Linked DNA regions of Homo sapiens: regions 1, 3, 4 and 5 are each linked to region 2. The links are contacts of gene promoters, found by promoter capture Hi-C in blood cells and fetal thymus (Javierre and others, 2016). All regions are on one chromosome and are shown on one strand. Each heading gives the region's core, a stretch centred on a gene start or on the middle of the fragment in contact. The rest is flanking DNA. Distances are from core to core; before and after follow the strand shown. Region 1 overlaps CDKAL1 (CDKAL1 threonylcarbamoyladenosine tRNA methylthiotransferase). Region 2 holds the start of TPMT (thiopurine S-methyltransferase). Region 3 overlaps LOC124901482. Region 4 overlaps MYLIP (myosin regulatory light chain interacting protein). Region 5 overlaps MBOAT1 (membrane bound glycerophospholipid O-acyltransferase 1).

What was found. Contacts are between HindIII fragments. The CHiCAGO score rates a contact against its expected background, and 5 or more counts as called.
Region 1: a fragment that was not itself captured here is called in contact with the fragment with the promoter of TPMT in region 2 in 1 of 17 cell types (naive CD8 T cells); the score reaches 9.0 in naive CD8 T cells.
Region 3: a fragment that was not itself captured here is called in contact with the fragment with the promoter of TPMT in region 2 in 2 of 17 cell types (fetal thymus and total CD4 T cells); the score reaches 11.2 in fetal thymus.
Region 4: a fragment that was not itself captured here is called in contact with the fragment with the promoter of TPMT in region 2 in 1 of 17 cell types (fetal thymus); the score reaches 5.6 in fetal thymus.
Region 5: a fragment that was not itself captured here is called in contact with the fragment with the promoter of TPMT in region 2 in 1 of 17 cell types (total CD4 T cells); the score reaches 5.7 in total CD4 T cells.

The regions. Positions count from the first base shown.
Region 1 is chr6:20,537,934-20,540,633 of GRCh38, forward strand. The region is part of intron 2 of CDKAL1 (CDKAL1 threonylcarbamoyladenosine tRNA methylthiotransferase); the gene reads left to right. Among named protein-coding and RNA genes, the nearest start is that of CDKAL1, 4.8 kb to the left of the region's middle. The HindIII fragment of the contact is 838 bases long and covers 1,024-1,861 here.
Region 2 is chr6:18,153,739-18,156,438 of GRCh38, forward strand. TPMT (thiopurine S-methyltransferase) reads right to left here and starts at 1,339. Exons shown (of 9, transcript NM_000367.5): 1 at 1,295-1,339. KDM1B (lysine demethylase 1B) reads left to right here and starts at 1,684. Exons shown (of 22, transcript NM_001364614.2): 1 at 1,684-1,833; 2 at 2,145-2,188. RefSeq lists a silencer at 1,385-1,944 and an enhancer at 2,385-2,624. The HindIII fragment of the contact is 1,618 bases long and covers 607-2,224 here.
Region 3 is chr6:20,398,810-20,401,509 of GRCh38, forward strand. It overlaps LOC124901482, which reads right to left. Exons shown (of 3, transcript XM_047419652.1): 3 at 1,932-2,700. Among named protein-coding and RNA genes, the nearest start is that of E2F3, 1.7 kb to the right of the region's middle. RefSeq lists a silencer at 2,645-2,700. The HindIII fragment of the contact is 1,105 bases long and covers 783-1,887 here.
Region 4 is chr6:16,130,562-16,133,261 of GRCh38, forward strand. It overlaps MYLIP (myosin regulatory light chain interacting protein), which reads left to right. Exons shown (of 7, transcript NM_013262.4): 2 at 1-186. Among named protein-coding and RNA genes, the nearest start is that of MYLIP, 2.8 kb to the left of the region's middle. RefSeq lists an enhancer at 2,482-2,641. The HindIII fragment of the contact is 407 bases long and covers 1,048-1,454 here.
Region 5 is chr6:20,205,791-20,208,490 of GRCh38, forward strand. The region is part of intron 1 of MBOAT1 (membrane bound glycerophospholipid O-acyltransferase 1); the gene reads right to left. Among named protein-coding and RNA genes, the nearest start is that of MBOAT1, 5.3 kb to the right of the region's middle. RefSeq lists an enhancer at 209-960. The HindIII fragment of the contact is 1,193 bases long and covers 721-1,913 here.

The sequences.
Region 1 (2,700 bases), core at 193-2,692, 2.4 Mb after region 2:
ATAGTGATGAGTGAGATTATTTAGGTACTTATGATATACAGCCAGGTTTATGCTACATAATGCTGATATGCAGCGTTATATTTATCTTTTTTGAGTGAATATCTCCAAATGAAATTGCTGGCTCGAAGGATATACATATGTTTGGTATAATTGTCAGGTTGCCCTCCAGAAGGGGTGTACCAGTTTTTCTGTGCTTTCAGCTAACAGAGTTTTTGTCAGCTTTGTATCAGTGAGGCAGCTGAAAAATAACTTATTGTTTCAATACTTGTTGTTAGTGTGGTTGAGCATTCTTTCCTCTTTTTTTTTTTTTCTTTTCTGGGTATTTGTATTTCTTAAGTGAACTGCCTGTTTTTCCTTTACGCATTGTTTTCTGGAATGTGGTTACTTATTAGTGTCACATTAGATTCTTGCATTGTTTGTACTTTGCCAGTGAGGCAAAGCCATAGTGGGAAGAGCATGGTATTGAGAGGATGCCAAGGTTCTGATTTCTAGCTCTATCAATGTACAAATCCTTTTGCTTCAGTGGACTCCAGCTCTGTAAGATAAGAAGCTTAGCAACTTCTGCTTCTCTAACTCTAATGATATGGGATGTCTATTGCAGTGGATTCCTTTCATTCCTCTTTTTCCTTTCTATTTCTCTTCAGTGGATCCATACACACTTGTATATGGGATGGCAAAATTGTGTAATTAAAAAATATGGCTTTTAATTAATGTTATTTAATTATTCATGATCTGTCAGTAGTTCTTCCGCATTCCAAAGGCACTACCTGGTCCTAGCCTCTCTCATTTAATTATTTCATAGAAGAGTGGTGATAGAAGAAATCCTAGGGGTTGGGCATTTACTTCAGCTTCCCACCCAGTGTAGAATTTCCTGCTGTGTCATAGAAAGACTAGCTAAATTCAACTTAAGCATTGTGTTCATTCATTTAGTCAGTAACTATTGTGTGCCTGCTATGTGTCAGGCATTGTTAGAGGTGTTGTAGAGACAGTACTGAAAAAGAGATGATGCCTTTGTGCTTAACAAGCTTACATTGTAATGAGGAAGATACAATTATATATGTGGTGTCAGGTAGGTAAGCACAATGAAGAAACATGAAACAAAAGCAGGGTTAGAAGCAGTGAAAGTGTGGGCATGCTTGGGCAGCGTGGTTATTTTAGATAAGGTAGTAGGAAAGGCCTCTCCGAGGAGATGTTGTTTGAGTGAAGAAGTGGGTGGGAAGACATACTTATCTGGGGGCTGATATTCTGGCAGAGGAATAGCAATTATGAAGGCTCCCGAGTCAGAAACTAATTTGGCATACTCAGAATATCTATATCCATATATTGCCCGACTGTGTAGTCTGCAGTAAAAGTATTTATTGAGAACCTGCAATGTGCTAGACATAGTTCTAGGCACCTGGGATAAAACAGTGAACACCTCACACGAAAACCTTTACCCTCACGAAGTATGTATTCTAGTAAGATAAACAGTTAAAAAATTATTAAAACATTTTAAGCAGATGATTAAATGCTACAGTTTAAAAAAAGGCAGGAAAGGGGCATAGGAAGAGGGTGTGTGGTGAGGTGGGGGTGTTGGTTGGAAAGTCCTCTCTTGTTACACTTGAGCAAAGTCCTTAAGGGCTTGAGTGAGTGAGCCATTCAGGTGTCTTAAGTAAGAGCATTCCAGGCAAGAATAAGACTGTGAAATGAATGCATATCTAGTGGGTACGAAATAACAAAGCCTGCATGACTGAGGGGAGCGTGGTAGGAAGTGGGGCCAGAGATGCAGCAGGAGGCTGATTATATATGTCATTGCAGATCTTTGTAGTGATTTTGGCTTTTTACTCTGATATGGAATACCACTGGAAGGGTTTGATTGAGAAGCTTGAGATGAACTTAGGTTTTAAAGGGATCCCTGACTTCTGTGCTGAAAATGTTCTTGTAGAGTTTAAGGATAGAAGCAAGGATATTAGGGATTGCAATAATCCAGACAAGAGGTGATGTTGGTTTGGACCAAGAGTGTAACAGTGGGTATGGTCACAAATAGATTCTGAATATATTTTGAAGGTACAGCCAACAGGATGTTGTTGATTGATTGGATTTAGGGTGACAGAAAGAGGGGAGTGCAGGATTTTTGGCCTGAGCAGTAGAAGATTGGGATTGTCTTTTTTTTTTTTTTGAGACAGAGTCTCACTCTGTTGGCCGGGCTGGAGTGCAGTGGTGAGATCTTGGCTCACTGCAACCTCTGCCTCCTGGGCTCAGGCAATTCTCCTGCCTCAGCCTCCCAAGTAGCTGGGGTTACAGGCGCTCGCCACTATGCCTGGCTAATTTTTTGTATTTTTAGTAGAGATGGGGTTTCACCATGTTGGACAGGCTGGTCTTGAACTCCTGACCTTGTGATTCACCCACCTCGGCCTCCCAAAGTGCTGGGATTACAAACATGAGCCACTGCGCCCAGCCAGGATTGCCATTAAATGAAATGGGAGAAGTTGTAAGAGGATCTGGTAAGGTAGGGAGAAGATCAGGAATTCTGTTTCGACTTTGACTTTTTTTTTTTTTGGGATGGTGCTTCGCCCTTTGTCGCCCAGGCTGGAGTGCAGTGGTGCAATCTCAGCTCACTGCAACCTCTGCCTCCTGGGTTCAAGCGGTTCTTCTGTTTCAGTCTCCCGAGTAGGTGGGATTGCAGGTGCCCACCACCATGCCTGGCTAATTTTTGTATTT
Region 2 (2,700 bases), core at 89-2,588:
GCAGTTTTCTCATTTTCATTCAGAAACTCTGGAACCTAAATTCAAGGCTTCATAAAGCAGTTCTCTACTTAAAAGAGAAGCATAATCTTTATCAGAGTTCCACAGCAGCCTGGAGTAGCACAACTCTATTCCTTTCACACAAACTTGAACTGTCTAACAAAATCATGCACATAACTTAATCATGTCTTAGTTGTTTGTTTTTGAGACAGGGTCTCTCTCTATCCCCCAGGCTGGAGTGCAGTGGTGTAATGACACTTCCGTCTCCAACACTGGGGCTCAAGCGATCCTCTCACTTCAACCTCCTGAGTACCTGGGACTATAAGGGTGCACCACCATGCCTGGCTAATTTTTAAATATTTTGTAGAGACAGGGTCTTGCTATGTTACCCAGGCTGGTCTCAAACTCCTGGGCTCAACGTCTTAGCTGTTCTAACAGTTTCTCAGCATGGACTCCACTTGTATACATCATTTCTAGAGAAATAAAGTTTATTTCTATAATACAAAAAAAGTGCACATTACAAGAATTAAGGAAGGGAAATTTCACAAAAATTTCTGCCCACAAACAAAGTCCTCAAGTTGTTCTAGTCTCCATTCTCACCTTTTCAAAAGCTTCTGCTATAGTTTTGTTTTTAAATTTCATAAAATTGAGAAGAAACTTTCCTAAGGTGCACACATCTTAAAAGAGTATGACTCGGTGAATTTTTTACATATACATACACCTGTGTAACCACCGCAGAGCAAGACAGAATATTTACAGCACCCCAGTTTCCCACATCACCAGGGATCACTCACTATTTGGCAGTACTTATTTTTTCCCAAAAATCACTAATACACCAGGCTGGGGAAAAAACCGAGAGTCCGTTTCTATAAAAAAAAATTTGAAAAATTAGCCAAGCGTGGTGCAGCGAGCCTGTAGTCCCAGTTACCGAGGAGGCTGGGGCGGGAAGATCACTTGAGCCCAGGAGTTCCAGGTTACAGTGAGCTATGATTGTGCCACTGCACGCTAGCATGGGCGACAGAGGGAGACCCTGTCTCTAAAAGAAAAAAGAAAAAAAAATAATTAAAACACACCAGTGCTTTGGAAGCACTTTAAATCCTGGACATTGGATTCAGGTCATTTACTGTCCGACCTCGTTATTCCCAGTTTCCGCTTCTGCCCTGAACCCCACTTCACAGGGCTGATTGCTAGGCTGTCTACGCTTGTAAGAATTCCTGGGAGCCCTAGCACGGGCGCATACACTCCTAGCAAATCGTTCCCTTTCTCACCCGCACCCTCCGCGCCCGAGTGAGCCTACCTCGCTTACAGCTGGTTGCCGGCCATTGCCTCCGCCACCAATGACGTCCCCAGGGGCGGGTACGCCTCCGCTTCCACCTCCGCCACTTCTCCGCGCCCCGCCTCCGCCCGCGCCCCGCCTCCGCCCGCGCCCCGCCTCCGCCCGCGCCCCGCCTCTTTCCCGCGCCCCGCCTCTTTCCCGCGCCCCGCCTCAGTTCCCGCCCCCTCTCCCGGCGCCCCGTCTCCACTCCCGCCCCGTACCTCGTTGCACAGACTCCACCCACTTCCCCAAGCGCCGGGGTTTGCGCAGCGGCGGAAATGGGCAGGGCGGAGCGAGCGCTGCGGCTAAAGCGAAGGCGGGGACCCTACCCATCCCTAGTCCTGTCGGCTCCTCCCACCCCGGGTCACGCCGTGACAGGGGCGGAAGCGGCGGCGGCGGCGGCGGCCGAGAAGAGGCTGGGGCTCGCGGCGCGGCTGCAGCCGTCCTGTGCGCGCGGCGCGCGGCTCCGGAGAGGCGCCCGCAGTCCAGGGCGGCGCGCACCGCCTCGCTGGCGCTCAGAGGTGGGAGGCTCCCCACTCCGGGGGCGTGCGTGGGGGCCGTGGCGGATTTCGGGTGACAGCGTTGCACAAAGCAGCTTGGTTGGGGTGCAAGCCCTCCCTTTCCCCCTGTGCAGCGCCCCTCGCCGTGGTGGGAGGTGGGCGGGTGCCCCAGGGACGGATACCTCCTGCCCCGGATTAAAAGAGGGTGCGGGGTGGGTATCTGTCTGAAGAAGGGGGAATTCCCGGGCTAGGGTGTTGGGGCGTGGGGTCGCCGGGTTCGTCGCGATGTTGCCGGTCGGCTAACCCCCCTACAATGTTTCCTTTCTGTACAGCGGTGCCTTTTCCCCGAGACTCCCGGCACCTCTTCAGCGCAAAGGTGAGCCCCGGGGCAGTTGCTTCTCCGACTTCGAAAAGCTTCCGAAAGCTTCTCGGAAAGCGAGGCGGCTGCAGCTGGCACCGGGAGTTTGGGGCTCCCTCCTGGGGACTGTCAGAGCCGCGGGAGAACCCCACGGTCCTGGAGTAGGAACTCCCTCGCTTGTTCTTCCCGGCCGATAGGGTGCGGCCAGGAGCCCGCACAGCCTTGCAGGTGTTGTAGTAATTCTCTGGCACAGCCACCACGCGTTGAGACTTGATGAGCATTGCCAGGTTGCTGGGGTAACTCCTCTGGGATTGGAGACCTGGAGGAGGGGTGGCCCGATTAGGGTAGCTGTTAGTCAACGGCCGGGCAGCTGACAGGTGAAAGAGGAAGGAAGAGGCCGACCCAGCTGTAGAAAGTTGGGGTTCAGTGATGTGGAAACCAGCCACATAGAAGTCCAGTCTTCCCTTGGGTAAGCCTGCAGGACTCCCCAGTCCACTCCAGTTGGGGAATCCCCCACACCACGTATACAC
Region 3 (2,700 bases), core at 85-2,584, 2.2 Mb after region 2:
TGCCTCTTTCCATCAAAACCTAGCAATATGGGTGTCGAAATATGGGTCTCCATTTGACATATAAGAAAACAGACTTTTTTATTTTTATTTTTTGAGACAGAGTCTTGCTCTGTTGCCCAGGCTGGAGTGCAGTGGCATGATCATGGCTCACTGCAACTCCGCCTCCCAGGTCCAAGTGATTCTCCTGCCTCAGCCTCCCGAGTAGCTGGGATTACAGGTGCATGCCACCACGCCTGACTAATTTTTGTATTTTTAGTAGAGAAGGAGTTTCACTATGTTGGCCAGGTTGGTCTTGAACTCCTGACCTCAGGTGATCCGCCCGCCTTGGCTTCCTAAAGTGCTGGGATTACAAGCGTGAGCCACCATGTCCAGCCTAATATTTGTATTTTCAGTAGAGATGGGGTTACACCATGTTTGCCAGGCTGGTCTCAAACTCCTGGCCTCAGGTGATCTGCCCTCCTTGGCCTCCCAAAGTGCTGGGATTACAGGCGTGAGCCACCACCCCTAGCTATATAGCTAGTAAATGGCAGAGCCAGAATTTAAACCCAGATCACTCTGACTCCAAAGCTCATTCTTTCTGCTAAAACATGCTACCTCTTCCACAAATTAATAGCCTACCTTGGATTTCAGCATCTTATCTTCCACTATCTTCTCTCTTTGAACTCTTCTCTCCACCTACTCATCCTAGAGTTCACTAGACATAAAGTGTCAAAACATCTGTTTCTCTACCAAATACCCTATATTAAAAAAACTTGGGTAAGGTAGAATGATAAATATCTGAAAGCTTTCTAAAGCAGAATTGCAGGTGTGGGTCTAGAGTGTGAACACTTGCTTTCTTGTGGCTGTGTCGTATTTATCTTATTGCAATCACTTGTGGGGAGCTCAAGCCAGGATTCTATGCACAGCCCCAGTCCCAGGCTGGTCTCTAATCATAAGGCGCAGGTCTATAATTACTGTGTATGTTGCACCACTCCTCCCTCACAACCCCCACTACTGCCACCAAATGCAAGCTGCCAGTGATGCTCTGCAGATGGTAATATCCAAGTAGTGACAGTACTAGTTTCTTCCACAGGTATATCCATAGAGGAAAGCAACATTGATGGAACAAGAGCAGGGAAGCTGCTGGTATATTACACTTCTAGCTCATGCCCTTTGAGTACCACTTAATCTGCCCTAAAGATAGTGTCACTTCTGGCCAGGCGCGGTGGCTCATGCCTGTAATCCCAGCACTTTGGGAGGCCAAGGGAGGCGGATCTCCTAGGGTCAGGAGTTCAAGACCAGCCTGGCCAACATGATGAAACCCTGTCTCTACTAAAAATACAAAAATTAGCTGGGCGTGGTGGCACGTACCTGTAGTCCCAGCTACTCAGGAAGCTGAGGCAGAAGAATTGCTTGAACCCAGGAGGCAGAGGTTGCAGTGAGCTGAGATCGTGCCATGGCACTCCAGCCTGGGCAACAACAGCAAGACTCTGTCTCAAAAAATAAAGATAGTGTCACCTCTACCAGTGTCGACAAATGTTTAGGGCTATGGATCCTCAACTAGCCTGAATGCAAGACTAAAATATTCCTGAGCCTGGTGCAAGGTTTAATGGAACTTTTAACTCATCTGTTTCAGAAAAGGTAACAAGGCTAAAATATTAAGGAGTCCTAGCCTGATCTGACACATCTTGTCAGGTGTTTCATAGCACTCTGAGTAAGAGTTTTGGGAAATTAATAATAGTAATAAAAATCTTGTGAAAGGGCTCAAGGTGTTGCAATCCTCATCACCTATGAGCACCAATTCTGCAGCTGTTTTGCACGTAACTATAAATTATGATCTAGTCTCTACATACATAACTTCCCCCACATTCCTGCAGGGGTCTCTTTTCCTGCTCAATCTCAGGAGCAAGCTTTAATTTTAAGACCCATGAATACTTGAACAAATTCAGGAGTCAGTTTGACACATCATTTTATATTTTTCTGATGACAATTTCTAGTTTACTTTTTAAAAAAAGACACTATTTTAAAAATACTTTGGGATAGGTTTGAGTCGTTGTGTTTGCTTCCAGTCAGAGAACTTCCTACAAAACTGAAGATATAAAGTGCTGATGCCTGGGCGTGCCTGCGTTCGTTGGGGGCACGACGTCATCGTGGGAAGCGTGTACTTTTTCGGATTACTGCTTGGCGGATTAGAAACCCGTAGATCAGTTCTAGGTTAGCCCTGATTAACTGCCCTGGGTGTTTCTGGGCCAGAGGGAATGTCTGCTGGATTCAAACCAATATCCGTTGTAAGACAAAAGAGTTAATTTGTACTTTACCCCTATCCAGGCTAATAATGAAGGTACCGGGAATGATCTGGAATGTTAACTGGTGCCCGCAATCGCGTCTGCTGAACCTTCTGCCCCCACGATTCTGTCTGCCCACATGCTTCTGTCTATCAGCCCCGGCCTCGGGATCAGCTCTCGCCGCGTCATTGGTTGGATTTCAGGAAGGGAGAAGCCCACGATTTAAAGGGCTCCTTTTGCACCTGCCAGACATCGTCCGCATGGTCCAACTTGCCTTTGGCACGTATCTGGAAAAATCTCCTGCGCTGTTCGTTTATTGCACTGACTGGTCAAAGGAAAGAGTGTTCCCTTAGTCACCTTGACAATTTCCAAAAGCGAAACTTGGGCTCTAGACTAGATCTACACTGAGTCTGCGGGGCGCGGAGTCCCTGCCCAG
Region 4 (2,700 bases), core at 1-2,500, 2.0 Mb before region 2:
CAGGCGACTGGGAATCATAGAAGTTGACTATTTTGGACTGCAGTTTACGGGTAGCAAAGGTGAAAGTTTATGGCTAAACCTGAGAAACCGGATCTCCCAGCAGATGGATGGGCTAGCCCCTTACAGGCTTAAACTTAGAGTCAAGTTCTTCGTGGAGCCTCATCTCATCTTACAGGAGCAGACTAGGTAAAGTGAGCTAAAATAAACCAATGTCAAATTGACCTTTGGTTCCCTTTAGAAGGGCCGCTGCACCTTCCCAGAGATACTCACAGGCAAGTTTGTTTTGATGCGGAGTTCCATCTTAACTTAGGTTTTCCATGCAGGTCCTTTTGTTGAGGTGGAGGGGGAGCTACCTACTTGGTCTGAGTGCATTTTCCAATCCTTCTTTTAGTTTTTCTTGTCTTTATAAACTTGATGGGTGAGCAGGGTTGAATTCTTACAAACACTTGAGATAAGTGCTACCCCAGGAAAAAAAAAAAAAAAAAAAGAAACCACCCTACCCGAGTGACTGACTTCCTGATAGCAGCATCTAATGCCCGATAGTAACCTCTGCCTCAGCAGTGTTACTATAGGTCATTGCAGACTGTTCTAACAGAAAGCAGGAAACAGTTCCTCTTGGGTTACTTAAACTTGGTCAGTTTCTTCAGCCTAGTGTCAGATTACAGTGTGCAGCCAAGAGCTCTGTTTGACTTCATGCAGAATTTTTAAAGTTTTTAAGTTTCTTGAAAATGTAATTTCATGAACTCTTCTAAGGCTACTGTAACTGAATTCCAACCCACAGATATGTTACACACGATTGGTGAGTATAGATTGAATTTATCTCTCTACGTTGTAAAACACCACCAACAGTGGTAGACAACTGAAGCATGTGGTCTCATTTTTCAAACAAAATATGTTCTCCCCTGGACTGACTCTAATACTTGATTCTCAAGAATGAGCCAAACTAGGAAATTGATATTTAATATTTATTGAAAGGCAGGAGACTTCAATCTTACAGTGGCATATCAAAAAATTAAAAAGGAAAACAGCTACTTTGAAGACATAGCAAGCTTTGGATCTAAGTTCTAATGTTTTTCATAATTCTTTGGCTGAGAAATTTGCCATGCATATGAAAAATGTGATTCTAAAAATTTTAAGTAATGATGAATGAGCATTATCCTTTAAGAGTTTTTTACATGACATTTGCTTGTTTGTTTTACCAAAGGACTGATAAAGACTCATTTTGAAATACTTATCATTTGAATTTGAAATTTCCACTTTGCCTTGTAATCGAGCTTTAAAGGTTGAGGCAGACGTTTAATTTTGTTTCTGAATGAAGATGGTATATTGAGTTCTTGGTACTCCTGAAAATATCTTGCAAAATATTCAAGTGATTGCATGCTTAAGGATGTTTTAGCTGTCTGTATTAATCAGAATAGACTTTTTAAAATTATTATTTAAAGCCGATTTGTGAAAGCTTTGCGCTTCACTGTCATAACTTGCAGTCGAATACAAGATATAACACAACATATTGGAATTTTCATTGTGTAGTCCTATTATGATTTTGTAATTATTTCAAGATCTCTAGATGCAACCCAGTTTTGATGGCACAAAATTATTTTTTAAATCTTCAGAAGCTTGGAGTACCAAATAACTGCATTTAAACAATGGCTGCAGTGATAATAGCATAATACATTTGTTTTATGAATGTATTCAGACTTTATAATTGACTAGTAGATGGTCTCTACCTGTGCTTTCCTGTAATTGGGTTAGTAACTATTATCAAATCAATTTTATTCATGTAAGAAATAGAGACATTTTATGAATTAGAACTTGAATCAAATTTCCTGTCTTGGTCTCTCCTTTATTGATTCAATTGACTTGGACTCTTGAGATTCATAATAGTACTCAAAGAATGTACATACCTAGTTCAACTAGGTAATTTTAATTGATTTTAATTCTTTTTGAAATTGTATGGAAAAGTTAAGTGTGACCTTAACTTTTAACTTGCTTTTAATATGTTGGTGAATTTTACTTGGTTTCATGGGGTTGGCTGAAATACATAACTGACACTTAAGTTTTAATAACTAGATAAAGTGATTTGTAATTAGCATTTGTACCTCTTAATTAGGACATCAGAAGCTGTACTGGGTCCAGTTTACAATTAGCATTGTTTTTACATGCATGAAACTATAGAACAAAAATATGTATGTTTACAAATGCTAGCAAATGAAGCTGGTTCGTAAACTTCTTTGATGTTTAATTATTTGTTGTAAAATACTTATATAAAATGCCATGAATATAAAATAGGTCTGTTTATGTAGTGAGTAAATTTAGCTTTGACAATCCAGTTATGAAAGGTGATTTTTTTATTCTTTTCTAAATCATGAGGGTGCATGTAGTGTAGTATACTGAAAGTATCTAGACAGTTTATTAAATGATGCTGAAATATCCTGGCAGAGTTGTCCTCTGGGGACAATTAAGGTAGCCAAGTTGGGAAGGGCAGTTAACTTATTAGTTCATATCAGATTAGGGAGGCCCTTGTGAGAATGATGGGCAGGAAGGCCTGTTTGTCATAGGACAGCACCAGGGAACCAGGCAGAAGCCCTGTATTGTAGTTTCAGCTCTGCCACCAACTACCAGCCATCCAGACTGCTATGGGCCCAGCTCTACATCCTACTTGAAGGCCTCTGAAGAGATGGTTTCTAAATTTCTCTTAGC
Region 5 (2,700 bases), core at 67-2,566, 2.1 Mb after region 2:
CAGAACCACAGAGGAACTTTCCACCACATGAACGTGCAGCTCCAGGAGGGACTGCAAAGCTCAGAGTCAGTCACTGGACACCACCTCATCAGGGCTCTGAGACCCTAGGGGGGCCACCCTACCTGCCCAGACCCCTCCAACTCCTCCCCAACCCTCACTCGCGGCTCGCAAGCTCCACTTCTCAACTTGCATCCACGTGCTGCCCCTAACTTCCTTCTCCCCCTCCTGTGTGACTCATCTTCCCACTGCCTTCCTCCCTCCACTGCTGACCTTCTTCACAAAGCCCACCCTCTGTTCTCATTTTACCATCACGACAGCAAAGCCAAGGTCAGAAGCAGCAGGTCAGAGCTTTTCCAGACCTCCCACTGCTGCTTTGCACTGTTTTCTTTTTCTTTTTTTTTGAGATGGAGTCTCGCTCTGTCACCCAGGCTGGAGTACAGTGGCACAATCTTGGCTTACTGCAACTTCCCCATCCTGGGTTCAAGTGATTCTCTTGCCTCAGCCTCCCGAGTAGCTAGGACTGCAGGCTTGTGCCACCACACCTGGCTAATTTTTGTATTTTTAGTAAAGATGGGGTTTCGCCATGTTGGCCAGGCTGGTCTCAAACTCCTGACCTCAGGTGATCTGGCCGCCTCGGCCTCCCAAAGTGCTGGGATTACAGGCGTGAGCCACCAAGCCCAGCCACTTTGTACTATTTTCCTTCCACTATCCTCATAGGAAAGCTTTCCTCCCTCCAGACTCCCCCACACTCCTAATATTACATGAGAGGATGCATGCAGAGGCATGGGCTGAGTGCATGACAGACAGCAGGCCGGGTCACACCCCCTCTGCTCCCTCTTCCTGCTTTCAGAATCTGCCCACCTCTGGTGACTCCTCCATATTCCTGGACACCTTAGGGACCTCATAGTCTTCTCCACCGCAACTCCCCAAATTCACCTGGGTACCGTCAATGTCAAGAAGGACAATCCATCAAATACAAATACCCCAGTTCCCCTGCTTGCTACACTCAACAGACTTTCACCCCCACCCTCAGGCGCACACCCCGATTTTCATCATCACCCAGAAAGACTTCACTAGAAATCCTTCACTCACATATCCCAGCCCTCCAGCTCTCTCACTTCCTCTGCACCTGCCCTCCACGACCCACCATCGCAAGAAGTTTTCCTCTTCACTCTTACCACCACCAACTACTTGTCAGCATCTTTCAATATCTGAGCTTCTTAACTTCCCAACAACCTTCTCTGAAAATTTCTGTTTCACTTTTGTTTCTGAAAGGAGCTGCTGAAAGAAAAAAAGCACATATTTGTGCATATTCATCCGTCTAAAAATGTATACTTGACAGTAGGTTGATTATACTCAGCAGCTCATTCAATTGACCTTGTCAGTGCTTTCTCAATTTCCCTTAAATACTTCTCTAACCCTGCACTCATCCGCAAAACCCTTGCTTCCTCCTCCATCCCTACTTCCTTCAGTGAGGACCTTCCGTATGCCTTCACAAAATGAAAATCTTTTCACAACTTAAACCCTGCGATGTCCTCCCTTGACTATAGTAATGGCTCTCAAACTTTAGTTGGCATAAGAATCACTCGGGAAGTACCCTCACACCCTGATATTCAAATTCAGCAGGACGGGGCAGGATCCCAGAAACACCCATGGCAGAAGATTCTGATGACAATCCATGCACCATATTTCAGGAGATACGATTATCATGCCAAATCCAGCCCACTGCCTGTTTCTGTGTGGCCTACATGCTACAAATGCATTTTACATTTTAAAGGGTTAAAAAAAATCTAAGGAAGAACATTTCAAGACAGGTGAAAATTCCATGAAATTTAGATGTCAGGATCCATAAATAAAGTTGTATGGGAACTCAAGCCTTGACTACAAAGAGACTTCAAATTAGTTTGGAATTAAGCTTACAAACCCAGCAAGATAACTAACAATATAAGGTAACATTTACCAAGCATCAAATGTAAACAGTAAATTCTACATGAGTCCAGCATGTCCTGTGGGCATCCCTTCTCTGTTCCACGACGGCACCATCTACAAACCTGTGCAGTGCCTACGCAGGTCTGTGAGCATACACAGCCTATATACTTACATGGGCCTTTTGTTTCCTCTAGAGTATATAAGCCCTTGCAGGATGGGGACCTTGATTTTTTTCATCTTTGTATTTCTACCATATGGCCAGGTACCTGGCACTAATAGCATTAAATAAATATTTAATTGATTTAACAATGACTGGAATGTGAGCTGAGCTTTTAATGAAGGACAAGACTTAGATAAGAAGAGAACTGAAGGTTGGGCTTTGCAAGCATGGCCAAGGGAAGCAACCAGGACTGACAGATCCAGGTAGGTAAAGAAACTTTGTAGTCGGCCGGGCGTGGTGGCTCATGCCTGTAATCCCAGCACTTTGGGAGGCCGAGGCAGGCGGATCACAAGGTCAGGAGTTCGAGACCAGCCTGACCAAGATGGTGAAACCCCGCCTCTACTAAAAATACAAAAATTAGCCGGGTATGGTGGCGCGCTCCAGTAATCACAGCTACTCTGGAGACTGAGGCAGGAGAATCACGTGAACCTGGGAGGCGGAGGTTGCACTGAGCCGAGATCGTGCCACTGCACTCCAGCCTGGGTGACAGAGCTAGACTCTGTCTCAAAAAAAAAAAGAAACTTTGTAGTCATGGGCCCAGGTGAAATAAT